Linked DNA regions of Homo sapiens: regions 1 and 3 are each linked to region 2. Evidence: promoter capture Hi-C in 16 types of primary human blood cells and fetal thymus (Javierre and others, 2016). All regions are on one chromosome and are shown on one strand. The core of a region is centred on a gene start or on the middle of the fragment in contact, and the rest is flanking DNA. Distances in the headings are between cores, read along the strand shown. Region 1 has its middle 33 kb from the start of SERPINB7. Region 2 holds the start of SERPINB5 (serpin family B member 5). Region 3 has its middle 54 kb from the start of SERPINB7.

Region 1 (3,590 bases), core at 417-2,916, 330 kb after region 2:
TCATTAACACTGACCTTGTTTAGGCTGCATTTCTTCTCTGGATTCGTCTCGTATCTGTTCTACCTGTCTCTTGTGACTCTTACTTTTCTCTCACTTTTAAAGTTGTGAAGATATTCTATGTTTTCATCTATAAATGCCAGTTTTCTACCTAAAACACAGATCAGATCAAGTTCATATTCTTATAAAACACTGACAGCTCTTCACCCTCTCAGGATAGAGTCTAAACTTTCTAATACGACATTCAAAGCCTTCCCACAAGGTTACTCTACCTTCCTTTTCCTATTTGTTTTGCCACTCTCTGCCAAAGACTCTAACCTGAGGTAACTTGTACTATTTGGAAACCAAATCCACTACTCTCACATTGTTTAGCTTGTCCCATCTGACTGGGATGCTCTCTCTATCTTTGTTTGATAAGACTCATTTAATTGTTCAAGAAACTGGCCATGTTCATGTTCTCTGTGTAGCTTTTCACTCAGCTGGACTCAAAGAACACATTGTGCATCCTTGTATGAGAGCTGTGTTCAGATTTCTTGCTATGTGTTGTTTGTGTGTGTGCACGTCTATATGCGTATGTATGTGCATGTATGTTGTGTGGTGTCTCGCTAGCTAACAAACTCTTTAAGGACAGAAAATGGCATATGGTAGGTATCCCTTTCAAATGTCAAATGAAAAAACTCCCTTAGAGTCCTAAGAAAGGAACAAAGTCAGAGTACAAGTGCAGACTGTATCCAGCCCTAATTCCCACCTCCACCAGGGGCTCCTGAGAACTTTCTATGTTCTGCTAGTCATATGCCAAAGCCCATATGAAGGCACAATCTTGATCTCTAAGGTGGGCGAAGGAGCACTACTGGATCTTCTGTTATTAGAGGGGTAGGAGGAAGTGTGTTTCATTCATCTCTCAATGCCCAGGCGAAGCATTACTGTCATCATCTTCACAATCATTTTCTTCATTGCCATTCCTGCTTCATCACTTACAAAACAATTTCCCAGGCTTCATCTCAATTGTCAGTACAGTTGTGTGAAGTGGGAGTTATTATGATTATTATTGTTATTTCTATTTCATAAGAAAAATAATGTTCAGAGAGGAGAGGCAATTTCCCAGGATCATGTGTGCTGTTTCCCTCATAACATGCTGTTGTGGACTTCATTACAAATCTTACTTATGCCTCAGCTGTGCTCAGAGTCCTCTCATTTCATGCCCCAGAATGTCACATGGCTCACTTCTTCCCTGGCATTCGTACTGACTGATCAAGCATCGTTGATGACCTCAGATTTTCTTGGAACACCGCACCTCTTACAAATTTGGACAAGTCCATAATGGCTATGTGTTCTCGTGTTTGGGTAGTTTAGACATTTAGGTGATTTCCCTTGGCTTGATATTATTTATAATAATCTTCCTGAGAGTTTCTATAACAGGAATAATATTGTAAACTCTCCAAATAATAAACTCTTAAGTATAAACTCACTGAGAGAAGAGACAGCTTCTGCTCCCTTTGTAATCTCTGGCACATTGTAGACAACTTCACTGACTGATTGATGCTACTTATCCAGGGAAAGGCAGTATATGTATCTTTAATCATTTGGACATTTCTTGACACTAATGTTTCATTTCTATTCCTGCAGACAAAACTAGAATGTGTGAAAACCCATGGCTAGAATAGTATTTATAAACCTAAACCTCCTGTTAGATATCATCAGCACCTTCAAAAGAGAAAGCCACAGAAGTCTTACCTAATAAAACAGGTAACAGCCTGGTTAACAAAACTTAATTGCATAGTTGGACATTCCTTGTTACTCTTTGTTCCTTGCCTATAGCATTGTGAACCAAAACAAGAATACCACTGTCCTTGAAATATAAGAATACTTTAGTGAAACTAAAGTGACTAAACCTTTACAAATAGTTTGACTCTTAATGAATGTTGTATAATTTAAACAAAGCAAAATAACATAACTCTATATTATCAGTTCATTGAGAAGAAAGAAAAAGTGATCCGAATGGAAAGGGAAGTGTGGATGGAGCAGAAATTCTTTCTAGATATTTTAAAAACAATCTATTTTACATTATACCATTCTCCCACCCCATGGTTGTGCCTCTTCAGACAATACTCTTCAGTGTGACTAAGAGTCTTAGTCTTAGGCTAGAAGGAGTGGTCACAATTTCCACAGGCATAGCAGGGAAATAAATGTGATGAGTGAGGGCAGATGAGCTATGGACATGTGAAGCAGGGGTTTCTACACTATTCCCGAAGTTTGGGAAGACTTCCTGGAGGAAGGGATGCTGTGGCTCAGATGTGGAACAATGAGTAGGAGTAGGAGGAATGGGAGGAGAAGGAGAGAGGGTTCCAGTGGGTGCAACAGCATGATCCAGGGCCCACAGTGAGAGAATACAGTCTCCTCGGATTCCTGCAAGGATGTAGAGGGCATAAGCGCAGTGAAAGGTGGGTTGGGGAGGGGCAGTAGGCAGGCCACAGAGGGCCTTGGACAGTAGGATGAAGAGTTTGCTTTGGTTCTAAGATGACTGCAAAGGCATTGAAGGGCTCTAAGGAGAGGAGTGAACCTCTCTGCTTTGAATTTCTGAAGGGTTGTGTTTGCTGATTTGTGGGCATGGGGCTAGAGTGTTACGAGACTTGACAGGGAGAAATGGACAGTGGTCCAGGTGAGAAGCGATGGTGGCCTAACCTAGAAGATGGGTCTTGGGAATGCGCATAGTGAATGAAGGTGACAGATTTGGGAGGCAGCCTGACTGGTCAGGACTCTGTGAACGACTGGATGAATGTGGCAGTAAAAGGGGAGGACTTCTCAAGATTCAACTTCACAATCTTTAAACAACTGTAACATCACCAGCCAGAGCAGAGGGGAGGGGAAGACAGAAGAAGGGGAGAAGCTGGATGGCAGGGGCATCCCTGTAAGGCCACTGGAGCTGTTATTGTAACGGTTCTTTACTTTTGAACTAAGCACTCCTTTTGAAAATCAGATTTAGGGGTATCCAAAAATGCACACGAAAGAATTTAGGTATATAATTTTAAGAAGTTCAAAGAGCTCCTGAATCCCATTCATAGATTCCCTAGGTTACAAATCCCTGTCACTTATACCTAAATTAGGGCATACCGGATGGGAACCATCCATCGTAGCACAAAGAAAGTGAAGTGTAAGAGCCATGGACCACTAGATAGATGCACTTTCTATGGGACTAGGGCTCTAGGATGATCTGTGCCTTTAAACATCCTGCACAATAGGCAGGGATGCACCACCTCACTCGTAACTATTAATTAGAGTCTTTATAGACAATAGACTTTATAGGCAAGAGAAACCGGTAAATGTTTCATTAAAGATAATACCATAGATGTCATTGACCACACCCAGCCACCTCTTTGCAAATAACCTCTGGTTCTGTGACTAGACATTTAGTGAATATTAACCTTTTAAAAAGTATCTGTTCCTTGGGTCTATCAGAGAACAGTGTCTCTAGAGGCATCAGGGTCTTTGAGAAGTTGATAGCATTTATTCTTTCATTATGAATTCCTTTTTTTTCCCTCTTTGTCCTTGAATCCAAATCCTCCTTAAGACTGTAGATGAGAGAAGTCAGGTTC
Region 2 (3,374 bases), core at 336-2,835:
AACTATATATAGATCTCATTTTACAGATGAGGAATCTGAAGATAAAGGGATTAAGCAATTTGCTCAGGATTTCTCAAGCAATGAGTGGTTAGACTTAGTTTGCAAATTTATGACTCTGCTCCCAAATTCTCATTTTCCCTCCTACAGCTGGATAATAGAATTTTTAAGAAGCATCCTTCCACACCTCCTCACCTATGACCTTCCCTCCACTTGCTCCACTGATGCCTAAAATTCTGTTTTTGGAGTTCACTTAGTTTATGACTTTGATTCTGGTTAACATTAAAATACCCAGGACATGGGGGAGGGGAAGCTGTTATCAATCTTAGTTTAGTCAGTTAATATAGCGAGTTGCTCTTATTCATTACTCAACAAGCACTTATTGACTGCATACTGTACATCAGGTCTGTACCAAGCTTTGGTGTTATAAAAATGAATGAAGTTTGGCACTTACCTTTAACATTGTTGTAGTCACATATAGGAGAATGTAAGAGATTATTATGAAACAATGTAGTAAATGTACAATAGGGAATTCTAGATAAGCACAGCAGAGAAGCAACCAGCTCCGTTTCAGGTCCTTTCCTGAGACTGATTCGGCTGGAAGGGAGTAGGTCCCGCCAAATGAAGAAGCTGTGGGAAGACAGGAGGACAAGAACAGGCTCCACGAAGAGATTTCAGAGCAGAGCTGCGTACTCCTTTTTCTTTTTGTTTCTTTTGCTCTGTCACCCAGGCTGAAGTACAGTGGTTAGCTCACGGCTCACTGCAGCTTTGACCTCCCAGGCTCAAGTGATCCTCTCGTCTCAGCTTTCCAAGTAACTGGGACCACAGGCATGCATCACCACACTAGGCTATTGTTTTACATTTTTTGTAGAGATGGGGTCTCACCATGTTGCCCAGGTTGGTCTCAAACTCCTGGGCTCAAGCAATCCGCTCACGTCAACCTCCCCAAATGCTGGGATTACAGGCGTGAGCCACCGCGCCAGGCCTGAGTAATCCTAATCACAGGATTTTAAAAAGAAACTTCCTGCGCCACCCATTAAACAATATCTCCTACCAATTTGGTAGTAAATATTTTGCTAATAGTACCTAATTTTTAGGTAGGCACTGTGTTTATACATATATCCATTCCTTCTTTTTTGATTGTCTTTCTGTTTAATGGGCAGCTACCTCTCTTGGCATCTAGCAGAATGAGCTGCTGCAGTTTACACAAAAAGAATGGAGATCAGAGTACTTTTTGTGCCACCAACGTGTCTGAGAAATTTGTAGTGTTACTATCATCACACATTACTTTTATTTCATCGAATATTTCACCTTCCGGTCCTGCGTGGGCCGAGAGGATTGCCGTACGCATGTCTGTACGTATGCATGTAACTCACAGCCCCTTCCTGCCCGAACATGTTGGAGGCCTTTTGGAAGCTGTGCAGACAACAGTAACTTCAGCCTGAATCATTTCTTTCAATTGTGGACAAGCTGCCAAGAGGCTTGAGTAGGAGAGGAGTGCCGCCGAGGCGGGGCGGGGCGGGGCGTGGAGCTGGGCTGGCAGTGGGCGTGGCGGTGCTGCCCAGGTGAGCCACCGCTGCTTCTGCCCAGACACGGTCGCCTCCACATCCAGGTCTTTGTGCTCCTCGCTTGCCTGTTCCTTTTCCACGCATTTTCCAGGATAACTGTGACTCCAGGTAAGCAAGGTGGGGTAGCAGGGCTGGTGACTTCCTTTTTTCAGGGAAATTCATAAATATCGTTATTTGAGCTGATTTGAGATGGTGAACAAAATGGACTTAGGTCCATTTTGGGGCTGTTTTCAAAGACGGGCTGTTGGGTTGAGTACTGTCGCCTCTCATCCCCCATGTTGGCAGTATTTCCAGCTCCCAACCCTTTGAGCACCAGGAACACTGCAGAGGGAGTAAAATCACTTAACCATACAAGGTAAGAATATGAAGAAGTCACGTGGCTCGGAGGTTTTGGTGGTAGAGGGGTGCAACCGTGATTCACGGAGGAGAAAATACTTCTGAGGACATTTTCAGGCCTACTTTGGAACTCAGAATGAATTTTGCAATGCTAGTTTCAGAAAGGGTGTGGTACCCGCAAACTGGGGAAAGTTGAGAAGTATTGGTGGGTCTGGCTGGCTCTTCTCCCTGGCTGACGTTGTAAGGCTGAGATTTAGGCATATGGACTGCCCTTCTTTTTGGCATTTTTAAGCATCAGATCGCTGTTCATCTACTTGCAACTGCATTCTTCTAAGCGGAAATTATTCTCCCTTCAGTTTTCTGGGTTTCAGCATAACTTTAAACAAGTTACACATTTCAGATGCATATTCTTGGACTTATAAATTGTAATAGCTGCTTGTAGTTTCTTACTCATATGCTGTACACTTTTTCTTATGGCTTCATTTAAGCATATCATACTAAAAACCAACATGCCAGGCTATTCCAGAGACTTGTAACCAGATCCTCAGAGCTGGGGGCTCTTAGACATATTTCAGCCCAGCCCCCTCATTCTGTAGATGAGGAGCAGAACTCACAGAGGTGATCTGGTGTCCAAAGGCACACAGCTTGTAAGTAGCACCGCTGAGATCAAATCAGGCCTTCACACTTGCAGCTCGGGATGTTTCCACAACACCGTGGGTTCTGTTACCATCTTTTTCATCCCCTACATCTCCCGGGAGGTTTTCGATAATGGGTTCCAAACCTCAGTCCCTGTCAGTTAGTGTAAGTGTTCGATGAGTTCCTTCATGGGTGGAGATGAAGCCTGTCTGAGGAAAGGAGTCTCCAAAGGAAATGAGTCAGCAGGTTTATATCTTTGCTTCCTAACGCCTTGAATTGTGCCACTTCAATCCCTCTGGGTTGTGGATTGACTTTGGGGCTATGCAGTCTCAGCGATTTGGGCCATTCTGGTGTGGCTGAGTCTGGCTGTAAGTTTACTGCTTGGCAACAGTGGGCTGGGTCAGTGGTCAAGATCAGGCTTCTAAAGAGACAGGAGCAGCTATGATGCTTCAGAGCAAAGCAGACGCCCCCCTGCCATGGGAAATTAAAGCAATTACTAATAGCTGTATTGTACTTTCTTGCCCACAAAGCACTTTTCATATACATTGATTCACTTAATCACTTCGTTTAGTCCTCATAGTCTTTCACATTGCAGAAACTTCAAAATATCCTATTTTCTTAATCCTGCACATCCTTTGCTCCTCAAAGACTTAGAATGTGGACAACAGAGGTTGTGTTTTTTGGCATTCCATTACTGATATTATAATAGGCAAGGTTTCTCATGGCATTCCCTAAGGACTGGTTATACCAAATACTTGAGAGATGTTTTTCACCATGTCTTTCCATCTTTAAAATGAGGCAGGCCAGGCTAAATGATATCTACGATACTCTGACACA
Region 3 (3,442 bases), core at 813-3,312, 350 kb after region 2:
ATTATAGGTAAATATAAAATGAGTTCTTGTCAAGTGTAAAATTAGAGTTTCTATTTCTGAATAAATACTTTTCATATAAAATAAATATGTACAAATAGTGGAATTAATAGTATTTGGTTCCTTTTTTGTCAACTTCAGTTAATACTAAAGTACCAGATACCACAATTCCCATTTTCAAGTATTTTCTAACACTATCTTATGTGATCAAGATAGAAGAGTCTATTCACGTATTCAAGCTTTCCTCTCTGAAATCAGTAAGTCCAGCTGCAATCAAGCCCACATGGCAAGTGGAATTTTTGCAGAAGCAGCTCATCCACTTCTCTTGGTAAGTTAGAATAAAACATGTTTCCATAAATAAAGTCGAAACCTTTTCTTTCTGTCTTTATTTAATCTACTCTAGAATTGTCTGTGCTATCAAAACTGTGGCAAAATAAAAAAGATATTACAGATAGATAAATGCACGCAAAACTATGGGAAAATAAAAAAGATATTACAGATAGATAAATACATGCTAATATAGAATATAAAATATATTTTATACATGCATTTTGTTTCATATAAAATACAAAAGAGTTTAGGATTCTAACTTTCAGTTGCTAGCTTGTAACAACTTCAATCATACTTTAGGCAGACCCAGCTGAAGCATGAATTTTTCAGAGTTTATGATATGGTTTTGATCTGTGTCTCCACCAAATGTCACGTAGAATTGTAATCCCCAGCGTTGGAGGTGCAGCCTGGGGGGAGGTGATTGGATCATGGAGGCAGTTTCTCATGAATGGTTTAGCACTATCTCCTTGGTGCTATTCTCACGATAGTGAGTTCTCATGAAATCTGATCATTTAAAAGTGAGTAGAACCTCCCCCATCTCTCTCTCTTGCTTCTGCTCCTGCCATGTGAGACGCCTCACTCCCTCTTTGTCTTCTGCCATGACTGGAAGATTCCTGAGGCCTCCCTAGAAGCAGAAGCCACTGTGCTTCCTGTACAGCCTTCAGAACTGTAAGCCAATTAATCTCTTTTCTTTATAAATTACCCAGTCTCAGGTATTTCTTTAGCTATTATGAATAATGCTGCTGTGAATATTCCTGTAAAAGGCTTTTTGAGTACATATTCTTTCACTCCTGTTAAATAAATATCTACTAGTGGAATTGCTGGGTCATAGGGTACATGCAAATGTACATGTAAGAAAATATGCTAGATTTTCTCAGAAGATTTTGTCTTTTATTTTACATTTGAGTTTTTGCTCCATGTCATTATTATTAGTCAAGGATTTTACTGAAGGTAGAAAAACAAAGACACATTAACAGTATAACATTTATTAACAGTATGACAAGAAAATTTCATCCACAATTTTGCATGTTTCTATAAAATAGATAAATAGGCTATACACTCACTTTCTTTTCTTCTGCATCTTCCACATTCCTTGTCCATTATATAATTGGGAATGCTTTACATATTTGCTCAAAAGTCTTGTTTTTGGTTCATATGAAGATATCTGGTGTTAATTATATATGCCAGTTAAAAATAGATCTAAAGTCAAAACAAAACCAGTGAAAATAATTCATATTCAATTGTTGATTAAGTATGGTCTTGCTTTGTTTCACTTCCCACGGGTGAAATCTAGGATCTCTTATCACCCCACAGCCTCATATCTCCCAATCAGCTGGTGTTGGTTAATGCCATCTCCTTCAGAGAGAACCAGAAAAATGCACTTCAGAAAGACCAAACAAAAGCAATGGCTTTCACGTTGGATGAGGTGGTCTCATGTAGTCTCATGGCTTAATTTGTTTATCTCTTAAAAGTAATCCTCAAAATTTTTGTCCTTAAGAACTGCTAAATTATTTCTGGCCTTAGGGAAGCAAATTAATTTCCAAGTGGCTATCCTAGCTACATTTGCAATAAAAAGCAGATTTTGATTTATAAAATATTTATTTTTTTGTTGAACCTTTCTTTAAAATTTTCCACTGTTTTTTACCCTGTATAAAAATAGAAATTCTATTTTAGCAATGCAGTTGTACAATTGAAAAATGCTATGAAATATAGACTTTGAAAGTATTTAAAATAAGTCTTGGTTAAGACCACTTAAACTATTATCAAGCCACTTACCTCTTGCTAACTGGAAATAAGGTCAGGCAATAGAAAATAACAGCAAGAGACAACTGAGGAACTAACAGGCAAATCACTTCTTTTAAAATTATACTTTAAGTTCTGGGATACATGTGCAGAATGTGCAGGTTTGCTACCTAGGTATACATGTGCCATGGTGGTTTGCTGCACCAGGCAGGTCACTTCTAAAATGAGTTTGATCTCCCTACAAAGCCAAGCTGAACTGGTGAACAAAATGCACAGTCAAGGTGGAAGGTTCTAGGCTTACTGCCCTTCTACTTAGCACCCTCAGCCTTCCCAACTTTTCTAAGTGTCAAAAATGTCCCAAATATCAGGCCACAACCAAAATAAGACATGTTATTTAACAAGAAAGAATTGATCTGTATATAATAACTAAGCCACTGTGCTATCAAATGCATTTATTCCAGCCCACCAAGGAATGCTTGAAATTACAAGTAAATTTAAAATTTGTTCTTGTCAACTGTAAGAATAGACTTTCTATTTCTGAATAAATACTTTTCATATAAAATAAGTAGTAAATTAAGGAGAAACATAAACCTCTAGCCAAACACATTAGTCATATCTGGAAGTATGTAGTAATGCCCTTACAAAGAATATTACCATCACATTCACATTTTGAGGTTATAAAATGAACAATAAATTATATAGATGTTATGGCTGTGATTTTTGAAAATACAGATTCTAGGGCCACCTTCCTGGGGACTCTGATTTGCATGATGAACTTGAGTATACATATTTTCAAAGAGCCCCTTAGGTCCTTCCAAGGATCAGCCCGGTTGGGGAATCACAGTATGTAGAAAATGGGCTATTTTAGCAGGATTCATAAAGAGATGCTCAAAGGGGTAAGCATACCCCACAGCAAATAGATTTGCTAGAGAAAGCAGCTAACAAAACAGAATATTTTATTTCACAGAAAAATCTCATCCATTTGGCTTATATACACAATGCAGGTGTATATACCTGTTAACTAGCATTTCAAAGATAAAAACATAAAGTATCATTATGGTCATAACAAAATTTCCTTAAAGTAGTCCAATTATGAGAGCTCACCTAGTGCTTTGTCACATTCTTAGCTATTTTGTAACTCCAGAAATTATCAGAATCAGCTCAATGCTGCTGACTAGTTAAGATTAGTCAGATTTTACTCGAGCTGGAGAGACTTCTAAATTATGCTCTTGAAAGGACCTATTTGTCCTTTAAAAATGGTTATCCTGGTAAGATCTTATGGTGTGGGTATTTCCCAGCCCTTTGAAGTGAATTAACTGCATCTGGAAGTCAAAAAAGTACACCTGAATGAAATTAATATATTGGGGAACTT

What was found. The method cuts DNA at HindIII sites, captures the fragments that hold promoters and counts their contacts. A CHiCAGO score of 5 or more calls a contact.
Region 1: a contact is called between a fragment that was not itself captured here and the fragment with the promoter of SERPINB5 in region 2, in 1 of 17 cell types (M1 macrophages). The highest score is 6.1, in M1 macrophages.
Region 3: a fragment that was not itself captured here is called in contact with the fragment with the promoter of SERPINB5 in region 2 in 4 of 17 cell types (M2 macrophages, M1 macrophages, endothelial precursors and 1 more); the score reaches 7.1 in M2 macrophages.

Annotation. Positions count from the first base shown.
Region 1 is chr18:63,807,071-63,810,660 of GRCh38, forward strand. No RefSeq gene overlaps it. Among named protein-coding and RNA genes, the nearest start is that of SERPINB7, 33 kb to the left of the region's middle. The HindIII fragment of the contact is 4,848 bases long and covers 1-3,590 here.
Region 2 is chr18:63,475,373-63,478,746 of GRCh38, forward strand. It overlaps SERPINB5 (serpin family B member 5), which reads left to right and starts at 1,586. Exons shown (of 7, transcript NM_002639.5): 1 at 1,586-1,673. RefSeq lists an enhancer at 335-1,534. The HindIII fragment of the contact is 5,766 bases long and covers 412-3,374 here.
Region 3 is chr18:63,827,402-63,830,843 of GRCh38, forward strand. No RefSeq gene overlaps it. Among named protein-coding and RNA genes, the nearest start is that of SERPINB7, 54 kb to the left of the region's middle. The HindIII fragment of the contact is 3,657 bases long and covers 235-3,442 here.